Regions from separate parts of the Homo sapiens genome. Here region 1 is linked to region 2. The links are contacts of gene promoters, found by promoter capture Hi-C in blood cells and fetal thymus (Javierre and others, 2016). All regions are on one chromosome and are shown on one strand. The core of a region is centred on a gene start or on the middle of the fragment in contact, and the rest is flanking DNA. Distances in the headings are between cores, read along the strand shown.

Region 1 (5,632 bases), core at 2,443-4,942, 780 kb before region 2:
GCTGCTTAGCAGTCACATGGGTCATGCTACCACCATAGGAAAGCTTCCTGATCAGAAGAGCTTGGAATATTCTCCTCCCAAGTATCTGCTTGGCTTGCTGATTCACCTTATTCAGGTTATCCAAATGTCAACTTTATAACAAGAATTTTCTCGACCTTCCTGTTTAAAATTGCAACCCTTTCCAATGCCTGCTATCCCTTTTCACCTGTGCTCTAGTTTTCCTCTACAAAATTTGTCATCTCTAAATATTATATGTAATTATTAATTATTATCATTTTTCATTTGGCTTATTTTCTGCCTCCTGAAAGAATGCCAATGACATAAGGGCAGAAGTTTTTCACTATTATAGCTTAGTAACTAGAATAAGGCATAGAACGAAGTAAGTGCTCAATGCATATTTGTTGGATCTATAAGCAAATAAATAAACCTGTGAGGTCAACCATGTGGAAGGTACTGTTTTTATTCCATCAGCTTAACTACAATGAGCAAAACTCATTCCTATCAGTAAATGTGGTCAATGCTAACATAAAATTTAAATCCTTGGCGTTTTTCATTATTTCAGTGAAATCCTCATTATTGAAACAGTGTCCTACTAATGGAGACACTTACAACAGTTGCATGTTTTTATAATTTATAACTAGTCTTACAAGCATTACCTCCATGCAAACTAACTTGCATATGTTGCTATTGGCAAGCAGGATTTCATGGACTCCAACAGCATTGCGATAGACAATAAAGATGGGAAGAAAGAAGGGGCAAGGGAAGAAAAAAGAGGGAGTAGACTAGCCATCTATTATCAGCAGAAAATTTCCATTACTACTCCTTCAAATAATTTGAGAACACTTCAGAGCTTGTCTTGGTTGCCTTAATAATATGTCATGAGGGAAAAACATATCACCTGAAAAGTATTCATGGGTGCCTATAGTAGACTAGGCAAGCAAAAATACTGTAACAAATATACTGGAAATATAATGTCTCAAACCAAATAGAAGTGTCTTTTTTTTTTTTTTTTTTTTGAGATGGAGTCTCACTCTGTTGCCCAGGCTGGAGTGCAGTGGCGCTATCTCGGCTCACTGCAAGCTCCGCCCACTGGGTTCATGCCATCCTTCTGCCTCAGCCTCCCAAGTAGCTGGGACTACAGGCACCTGCCACCACGCCCAGGTAATTTTTTGTATTTTCAGTAGAGACAGGGTTTCACCGTGTTAGCCAGGATGGTCTCGATCTCCTGACCTCGTGATCGGCCTGCCTCAGCCTCCCAAACTGCTGGGATTACAGGCATGAGCCACCGCACCAGGCCTGGAAGTGTATTTTCTTATTGCTGGAGAGTCCAGAGAATGTTGCAGCCTAACTGAAGTTACAAAACAGGGGTGGCTTTACTTCAAGCAGCTTGACAATTGTTCTTTCAGTTTCAATAATAGGCTTCTAAGATTATTGTGGTCATTGTCACTGGTATTCCATTCCACCACAAGGGGGCAAGAATGAGGAAATAGTACCTGCTACTTTAACTAATATTCTATTGTATAGAACTTAGTGATGCAGACATACTTAACTAATTGAGGCTAATAAATATCATTTAGATATATAGCCAAGTGCCTAACTAATATGGAAGGAGGAAAAAGTGGATTCTAGTGAAAAGCTAACAGTCTCTGCCACAGTTTGGCCTTTTTCTCACCAAATATCTGTCATCCTTTCTTCCACACTTAGAATATTCACTGACTTTCTTCTCTCCACAACCAAAAAAAGAAACATCCCCAGATCTCTTCTTCAGTTACTGCATGTCTCACAGTTCATGATCTGTGGCTGACACACAATCTGCATCATTTGGTTCAGCAGTGTCACTTGCATTATGGTAACCAACAAAACAAAATACAAGTTTTCTGCTTCCCACCACCATCACCACCATGAACACAATGCACAATTGTGAAGTAAGGACAGAATAACTGCAGTATAAACTGTAATACAGAAAACGGAAACATGGGAAACATATAAGCATCACTAGTCCAAATAGTGAAAAACTAGGCAGGCATCATGAGGAACTTTGCCGTGGTACTGAAGAAAGTTCCTTGATTGGACCATGGCTGTCCCCCAGAGGAGCACCTTTCCCCATTGTTCTTTGTAGCTTCTGGCTTAGTTCCACTGTAGGTTCCTTCTTGTTCATTATCCTCTGTGGCCATATTGAGATTGGTGCTATGGTCTCTGCCTTCCTTCTGAACTGTGCAAAAATACAAGTCCACTTTTTTTGGATGCAAGTTTGGGGCTCTGAGGACTGTTTCACTGTTTGAAGAGTCAACGGGATTTAAGGATAGGCTCATAGTTTCCTTGTCAATACAATTCTCTCAAAAACTTGGTAGGTTTCTAATATAGTTGCTTCCAGGCAACGCAATGCCACAGTAACCACAAATTAAAGTAAACACAGTTCTTAAACCTTCTTTATTTTCCTCTTCCCATGTAATTACAAGAGTATTGGACACAATACACTTAGAAATAAGGGCCACAGATTTATCTCCCAACATTAGGGGTCAAGAAGCTGTTGAATTTTGCAAGTCCCTCTGTTTCCTACTATCCTTGGTACAAACCACCCAATTCTTGTCTGTGTAACACCTTGTTAAAACAGCTGGAATAGCAACATTCAGTAACATTTTGGCTGTTTCCGACCCCTTCTCCTTCGAGCTACAAGCTAAGCAGGCACATGGTCTGCCTTCCAAATATCAGAGTAACAGTGTGATATAACTGCTCAGTCAAATACCCAGCTACCTTGGAAGAAAAGCAGCCAGGAGTCAACTAGAATACCTGATCTGATATTATAAATATAAATGGTAGATGCATTGCATATTCCCTTATTGCTTTAAAATTGCTGCATTTTAAATTACTTGTAATCTCATTGAAGGCAATGGTTGAGTATGAGAATTGTCTTAGATCTATAACACAGACCAACATTGTTAAGTCATTTCATGAATACTTACTGCTTAATGTTATATACAAATGCCTCTAAATGCCTCTAAAGAAATACAAATTATTTTTTATAGCTATTTTCTGATTTTTCTACCCCATTTTCATCATTTTATTGATTTGTGTAGGATAAGACAGCATAATTATATTGTAGTTTAAATGTGGATGGGTCAGGGAGAATATTTAGAATACTTTTGCCATATTTACTTGTTGAATCACTCTTTATTCATTTATGTAAGTAAACCACCATGTGCCAAGCACTCTCTGGGTTACACTGGTGTGTGTGTGTGTGTGTGTGTGTGTGTGTGTGTGTGTGTGTTTTCAAACAACCATTAAGTGAAATACATAACAATTTATATACCTGATCATTCAGAAGATAATAAAAAAGCTACTGTTAATTATTCACAGAAACCTTGTAGAGTATGGAATTATTCAGACTGAGTGTCATAGATAATTGTTCATAGATTCTGATTAGCACTCAGTAAATATGAATCTTGATCTGAAATTTTCTATATTGTTGATGCTTCACAGTGATCCAACTTTTTGGTGAGGAACTAAATGGATGGTCTTACCAAGTATTGCCCAATTCAGAAACAGCTGCAGAGCTAGAGATAGAACACCAATCAAGGCTGTTCAAGACTGAGCCAGAAGCTTGAAGGAAAGGACGGGTGTGAAAAGAGAAGAATGTATTCTAAACTCTTCCTTCTCTGGTGACTAATACTGTCTACCAATATAAATTTGGTATTTATTAAGAACTATGCAGCATGGCCAGGCGCAGTGGTTCACGCCTGTAACCCCAGCACTTTGGGAGTTTCTCAAACACTTAGAAGCTTGAGACCAGCCTGGCCAACATGGTGAAACCCCGTCTCTACTAAAAATACAAAAATTAGCCAGGTGTGGTGGCACGTGCCTATAGTCCCAGCTACTCGGGAGGCTGAGGCAGGTTAACTGCTTGAACCCAGAAAGCAGAGGTTGCAGAGCAGTGAGCTGAGATTGTGCCACTGCACTCTAGCCTGGGTGACAGAACAAGATTCAGTCTTAAAAACAACAACAACAACAACAACAACAAATATATATATATATATATATATATATATATATATATATATATATATATATATGCAGTATCAAGCCAAGAATATATGACACAGCATACATAGCTCCAGCACCATCCATCTTACCAAGGCAAATAATCTCTTGCCTTAAGTAACTAAGCCAGTTCAAGTAATCTATGAAATTTTGAAGAAAGACACTAGTTTTAGACATATCTATATTGTATTGATCTGAGAGTAATTATAAATTAGAGCTTGGTACTTTGATTGTGACTCTGAAAGGTATATCAATAGCCACTATAGAAACAATCAATTTCTACTTTATTTGTCAATACTTATCCACCACCTCAATGCCAAAATTAGTACAATTTATTTTGTCCTTGATGATGAAAGTGAACTCTTGACAGTGATGGGAAACTTGAAGTTTAAAGAATTTTGGCATCAATCAGAAGCAATTTTGATCTGTAATATCAAGATTTACTGGGCACCAATTGGAAGTCAGTATTTAGATACCAGGGTCATAAAGAAAAGTTGTCAAGTCAAAGTGTTTGAAATCATTCCAAGTAGGGCTGAGACTACTGAGTTTTTTAACCATAGTTTGCTTTTAAACACCCTGGGTAGTTAAGAGTTCTAAAGACATATTACATTTTAGAAAAGATCACTGTTTTCTATTACGATCCTCAACCAAGTCAAAAGTGATACAAAATTCAAATTAAATACTAGTGCTAAAATTCCATTAATCTATTATAAAAATATTTATGAAATCCAGTCACACATTATAGAAATATAATAAAGAATTATAAATGATTGGATATTCCAGATAAATAGTAAGTACCCATCTGAGAATTAAAAGCTATCTGAAATTGTCACTATTTCAGATAGACATAGGTCTAAAATATGTTATTCACAGTCATGTTTTCTCCTATGGGGCAGGCTAATTTTATTTAGCTATAGCTTTATAACTCAGGTGGGTTATGCTCCTTATCCACTAATGCCCTGGATCTTTCAAGGACTTGTCAGGAAACGGAACTTGCACCTATCATTGTAACAATAATAATTTCACATGCAGGATGGTAAAAACTGAATAAAGTTGCTAACTAAGTAACTAAAAAAGGGAAAAGAACATTAAAATATCATGGAGATAACAACTTCAAGAAAGAGCTACCACCCCTAGGACTGAGCGAACACAGGGAATAAGGTAGAATATTAAAACTTAGACCCTTGAAGGGAGGACCTTCAAAACGGAACCTCAGTCCTCCGAGGAGAGGGCACTTCTCTGCTGTTATGGGTGTTCCTCTGGTGGATGGAGGTCCTTCCAGAGCTAGGACCACAGACTACTGAGAAAGTTTGATGGATGATATATAACCCCTTAGCTGAAGGAATTAGCATATTTGATAGTAGCTAAATTTACCTCTTTGTATCATATCTGCAAACCTAACAGAAGGTAATGAGCATCCAAAAATATATGGGTGATAGTAATTTCAATATTTGAAACATAATGAATTTGTCTACCTTGAATTAAAATCAAAACATAAAACTTCCAAATCCACATGATATGTATAGGATTTTACATACAATACAGTATACTATTTCCTACAATTTGTGAATCGACAAGAAACATTTAATCAAGA
Region 2 (5,824 bases), core at 1-2,500:
ATCTGTGATATGGTTTCTCAGGAACACCGTTTGGCAGTCCTGATAATTTCATGTGTTTTCAAATTTCAGCCATCCAGACTACACAGTTCACTATTTTCAGCTCCTTTCATTTTCCTTTTCCCTTTAATTATAGAAGTCTCTATTCCCTCTTTTCGCAAATGTGGTCAGGAAAGATACTAAATGCTACTATTTGTAGAAAGAATATGCATTTGTTTTTCTCTTGACGGTTCACTTAAGTTCTTTCCAAATAAACAAGCTGTGGTTGATAGTGATAGGTAACACTTCAAGGGTAGCAACTTTTTGTACTCATCCGTTCCTTTGACTTTGGAAGACGTGGCACATGCCCCGGGGGAGAAAAAGCAAGTCAACACTTTAGTTTTTAAACTTGCACTGTTAAAGCACTTTCAAAATAGTAATAGTTGAGCTTCATCTCAGACATGAATGTCTTTCTCAGTCTATTCCCCAGGACCCCTCTTATCCCGCTTCAGGTCCCGGTCAATGCGGTGCGCTTTCCGAAATGGGGCCGCAGAGTTGCCGGCGGAGACCAGTAGGTGGGAGGCTCCACGCACACTCCCCGACTCGGCCGGGACGCGGCTCCCGGACTCCGCGCAGGGCGCCAAGATCGCCGCCCCGCTCCCTTCCCCCGGCCTCCCCACCAATCCCAGTTTGAAAGAAAACTTCACGCGGCCGAAATGAACGTCACCTCACCGCTCCAAGCCTCCAGCCGGCAGAAAACGTGAGATTTATTATGACACGGGGAGGGGAGATGGGGGTCGCCGTGGCACACTCGGAAGCGGGTTACCTGGCCCCCGTCGGGGGCGGGGTCCGCAGTCCGGGGACCAACGGGCTGGGGGCGACGCGGCCGGGCGCGCGGGTGGGCGCGAGGGAGTGCGCGCGTCGCGGAGCCTCCGGGGCAGCACTTGTCCTGTAATCGATTGCCGAGCGCGCCGAGCGGCTTAGCGCGCAGACACGCGCACACGCGCCCGCCAGCCCGCGCGCGCGCGCACACGCGCTCTCATACACACACGCACAGGCGCTCGGGCCCCGCACACACGCACGCGCGCGCACGCACGTCCGCTCGCCCGCGCCCGGGGCTCCGCTGCCCGCCGCCAGCCGCCCGCCGCCGCCGCCGCCGCAGCCGCCGCCAGCCCGCCCTCCGCCCGCGGGCGTCTGCGCGAGCCCGGCCGGCGGGGGAGATGTGCTCGGGCTCCACCGGATCGGTTTCTCGGGGTTTGACCAGCTGTCCCGGGCTAACCCTGCTCCTCGCTGAAGATGGAGGAAGTAAAAACAGGATTACCCTTAGCTACAGATCCACTGCCTTAGTTTCCACCACCAACTGCAGTGCACAAACACACGTTAGGCACAGGAAAGAAAGAAAGACAGAGGACACATTAACAGTAAACACAAACAAAAGGGTGATGGGATTATTTTACTGCATGCACTGCTGAGGTAAATCTCCGCTTGGCTTTTGCGTGGTGAAGAACAGCTCTTGTTTTGTCTTCTGATTCATAGATTATATATAAATATGTGTATGATTTGCAAAGGGGGGAGTGTTTTCAAAGTTAAGTGTAATTATATAGCATCTCGTTTTGCACTGTGATGTGATCAAATGACTTGTTGCTGTTAACCAGTAATAATAATAATAATATAGGTATTTTTCTCTGGGAGGGATGGATTGTGGTTCTGATTAGGGTAATGATTTTTGTAAAGGACGCTCAGGGAATCGGGTTGAAGATGATGTCCTCTGCCTTAATTTATCGTCCCCTCCTTGTAATCTGTTTCTGGGATGTTAATCGATTAATCAGTTCTCATCTCTATAGCTGTCATGAATTTGGACTTGTTTTGCTTTGTTTTAACTTGAATTCCAAGAAGAAAGATTGGGTAGGCTGGAATAAATTGAAGCTGTCCAGATAGAAGGTAATATCCAGATCCTGTTGGAATTAAAAAAAAAAAAAAACCAAAAACCCTGGTATGACACATGTAAACAGGCAGCAGTTAAATCACTTTGACAGGTTCTAGTATGGGCGAAAGAGATGGAATTAAGATTTATTTATTTTTTTTCTTTTTTGCCAAGGGCCAAAAACAGTCCTGTGAAGTTGGCCTGGGTTCCTAGCTGGGTTCTGCCTGACTGTCCCTCCCCTCTACCCGCCCCCCCCCCCTTTTCTTTCAGTTTTCTTGTCTTAGCTTTTGGTCGATTCTTAAGGAACCGGTGGATCAAGTTTTTTCTCTTGTTAATCGCATTGCTATAGCACTGACTGACCTCTCTCTCTCTCTTTTTTTTCCTCTTTCCTGAAAGTACGTGGTGCCATTCCTGAGTGACTTTTCCTACTAGACCATCCCTAAGGGACGAGGGGGAGGGGTGGAAGGAGGAGGAGGAGGAGGACGAGGAGGAGGAGGAGGAGGAGGGGGGTGTTCTTCTCTCTCATTTCTTGGTTTTGTTTATCAGCCGATCTGTTTGCTGGATTTGGGCTTGGAATGACCCACCTGTAAAGTGCTTTTCCTTCCTCCTCCCCTTGAACTCTGCAGGGGGCTTGGCTTGGAGGGGGCAAGGGAGGGAAAGAGAGAAGGGGGAAACACAAAAAACTTCTTTCTTTCTCCCTCCGTTTATCTTCAGCCCGACATTGTCACCTCCTCTTTGAGGGGTTAGAAGAAGCTGAGATCTCCCGACAGAGCTGGAAATGGTGATGAATCTTTTTTAATCAAAGGACAATTTCTTTTGTATGTACATTTCGTTTCTCTTTCTCCTTTTTCTTTTTCCTTCTTTCCTTCTCTGAGGGTTAATAACCATTTCATTGATGGGGCAGCCTTCTTTCGCTTCTCCCTGACGTTTCTTTCTTTTTAATATGTGTGTGTTAAATGTGTACATTTTTAAAGAGATAAGCTCATTTGTAAAATATCCGAAGAAACTGCTCCTCTTTTAAACTTTACGGATCTCTTTCTTTAAAGCCTTATGTAATCATAATTTAAAAGAATGTGATAACAGTACAGCAGGTTGAAATTTAAGTGCTATGTAGTGACTGAGTTGGGAATTTGATCTGATTATTCCATAAAGAAAGAAATAAAAGTTTTTTTTTGGGGGGGGGGTAAGGGAGTGTGGTGGTGAAGAAGGGGAGGGGAGGGAGAAGGGAAGTGGTTTTGGAGACAAGAAGTGAAGCTGCCTGTTTTCCAGTAAGTAATGGAGAAATTCCAGGAGCCAGGGCTAAATATACTTGGCGATCAATACAGAAATGGCTCATTGTGAATAATTTAGCTGCTGGTGCAGTGAGAGTTTTGAAACTAAAGGCAAAAAGGACCAAGGCCAAAGGGGGAAAAAAAAGTAAAAATCTTCTCAGGACTTGTCAATTCTTAAACTTTTTTCCCCACAGAATACAGTTAGATTATCGATCTTTTCATTATGTGAATCAAAGCTAGGGGGTGTCATCTCATACAGTTTACTTTTGTTTCTGAGAATTATGTTCTGTTGTGTGGCGTTTGTGCATGAGAATAATTGCCCAAAGTTTTTTTTTTTTTTAAATGATTCTCTCTAGCACAACCAAAGTTTATGAAATTTTCAAAATCAGACTGTATTAAGTAGGCTTGGCATTTGTGTCCAAGCATGGTCTGGCAGGAAATTAAGGTTACATTGAACAGGTGCTTACACAGAACTTGGGGTAGGTTAAAATGTCAATACAAGTCAGGGAGTTGGCCAACTGCTGTAGAAATCTTCAAGACACCGTTGGGCACTAAGTTTTTTGTTTTGTTTTGTTTTCTTATGTTTGTTTGTCCTCCCCCTCCCTATTAGAACATGATGAACCAACTTGCAACAATTGTGAATAGAGCTATCTGTATACTGGGGAAGTCCTCAAACTGCAGTGTGATTGTGGGAAGTAGTGAATGGTAAAACACTTAAATCCCAGTTAAAGCTGACACATTTGAGCTATACCCCCTATTTTTTCTTAAACCCAATAAATTTTGATTAAGAGAGTCATTCCCTTTTTGCTCTAGCCCATCTCACAGCACACTTATCTTTCCTATCCTATCTCCAGCAGGAATCAGATCATTTGCAGAAAGAGTTCAGTGACTTGCAAATGAGCACATACAGTACACTGTGTATGTTTCTGGGCACAGGTGGCAGCAGCAACATGGACTAACTGCTTGGAGCTTCAAATAAGTTAAGAATTTAATGGCAGATACTGAAAGGAATCATTGTATTAAGGGTATAATCTTTTGTTTTGCAGCATTGCACTTTGACTATGGAAACAGAGGCTATTGATGGCTATATAACGTGTAAGTATTAGTTTTCATTGATTTGTTATTGGTAATAAAGTTGCCTTTGTATTACCTGTGTTTTAATTCCTGGATTATGAAACTTTATTGAGAATTCTGTACTCTTTTTTCTCTCTGTTCACAATTTCACCTTTGAATGAGTTTGAGAAAATGACAGCACTGAAGTGAAATAAGAAGGAAATATAGAAACATACTAAGTTAAGTAGTGTACTTAAATCAATAGTAGCTAGCAGTTCAACACTTTCCTACTTTTTATAATTTACTTTGTTGTAAGTTGAGAATAGGCCAGGTTTCATATATGTCTATTAATATGGTGTGTACTAAATATTTACTTCTCTGTAACCTAATTTTTCAGACATATTATGTGAAAGAGAATTAGCTTTCCTAACTTGACATTTCTTTAGCTACCTGTCTTTTCCATCCTCTCTCTGATAGCCAGCATTTTGGAAAATGCTCATTATAAATTCTGTGTGCTTAACAATTAAATTAGATGTTAAAAGAAAAGTTATTTCTTTCAACTGAAAGATACTTTAGAAATCAACAACTTATGTATTGAGATAATAAAGTTTTGTTAATTTTTTTTATTGTGGGTTGATTATGGCTTCTCATCATTTCATTCAACTGTATATTTCTAAATGATATTTCCTTATAGTTTCTAAGGGAAAAATGTATTACCTTACAGTTTGAAGGCTATGCATGCCATTGCGTGTATAAAGCAAAGTTAGTAATTACATCTTATGTGACAATGAATAGAAACCAAAAGATTATATTTTGTGAAAGCAGGTGACAATGAGCTTTCACCCGAAAGGGAGCACTCCAATATGGCAATTGACCTCACCTCAAGCACACCCAATGGACAGCATGCCTCACCAAGTCACATGACAAGCAGTAAGTCTTCATTTTATGATTTTTTTTTGTGTGTGTGTGTCTCTCCAGCAACAGACTTTAATTTGTTAGGTCTGTGGGGTCCTCTCACATTGTGGTATAGCTACTGTTATAGATTTTGCTAAAGAAAGAACAACACAGATTTATTCCTGTTCATTCTAGTATTATAAAACATGAGCCTGCTTACTAGTCTGAACTATCCCAAGGTGGCATTTGGGAGCTGGTGCTTACCTGTATCAGGTAAGAAAGGTTAGAATTTGCTGGTTGTTGTTTTGACTTGCCAGGTTTATGACTGGATTTTTTGTTGTTGTTGGGTAAAAAATGTGGAAACGTCACTTCCAAAGGACTCTTCACAGTTAAAAAATGAAATAATTTTATGTTGCCTTGGTAGAAAGCTAAACCGTCAGTGATAAAATTACAGTGTTACTTGCTTTTAAAAAATGTGAAAGTTTCTTCTCCAAAGCATTGGAAGTGAAGTGTAATTGAAAATTTATAGAACTCATTTATATCCATTTCTGTAGCAAAGTTGAAAGGCTTTTGTCCAGAGAAGAACTGATAAAATTTGGAAAGATGTTTTGAATTTGTAGGAAAAGACAGTTTTGGCTACTGTTTTTGATAAAGGGTCATTTACTGATGTAATATACATTGTTTTTATGTAATAAGATGCAACTTA

The links. Contacts are between HindIII fragments. The CHiCAGO score rates a contact against its expected background, and 5 or more counts as called.
Region 1: a fragment that was not itself captured here is called in contact with the fragment with the promoter of IKZF2 in region 2 in 1 of 17 cell types (total B cells); the score reaches 5.3 in total B cells.

What each region holds. Positions count from the first base shown.
Region 1 is chr2:213,930,586-213,936,217 of GRCh38, reverse strand. The region is part of intron 12 of SPAG16 (sperm associated antigen 16); the gene reads right to left. Among named protein-coding and RNA genes, the nearest start is that of MIR4438, 180 kb to the right of the region's middle. The HindIII fragment of the contact is 179 bases long and covers 3,603-3,781 here.
Region 2 is chr2:213,147,038-213,152,861 of GRCh38, reverse strand. IKZF2 (IKAROS family zinc finger 2) reads left to right here and starts at 1,250. Exons shown (of 9, transcript NM_001387220.1): 1 at 1,250-1,449; 2 at 2,615-2,718; 3 at 4,218-4,266; 4 at 5,050-5,154. The coding sequence starts at 4,233. RefSeq lists silencers at 660-1,019, 1,100-1,159 and enhancers at 3,526-3,625, 5,327-5,376. The HindIII fragment of the contact is 7,158 bases long and covers 1-5,824 here.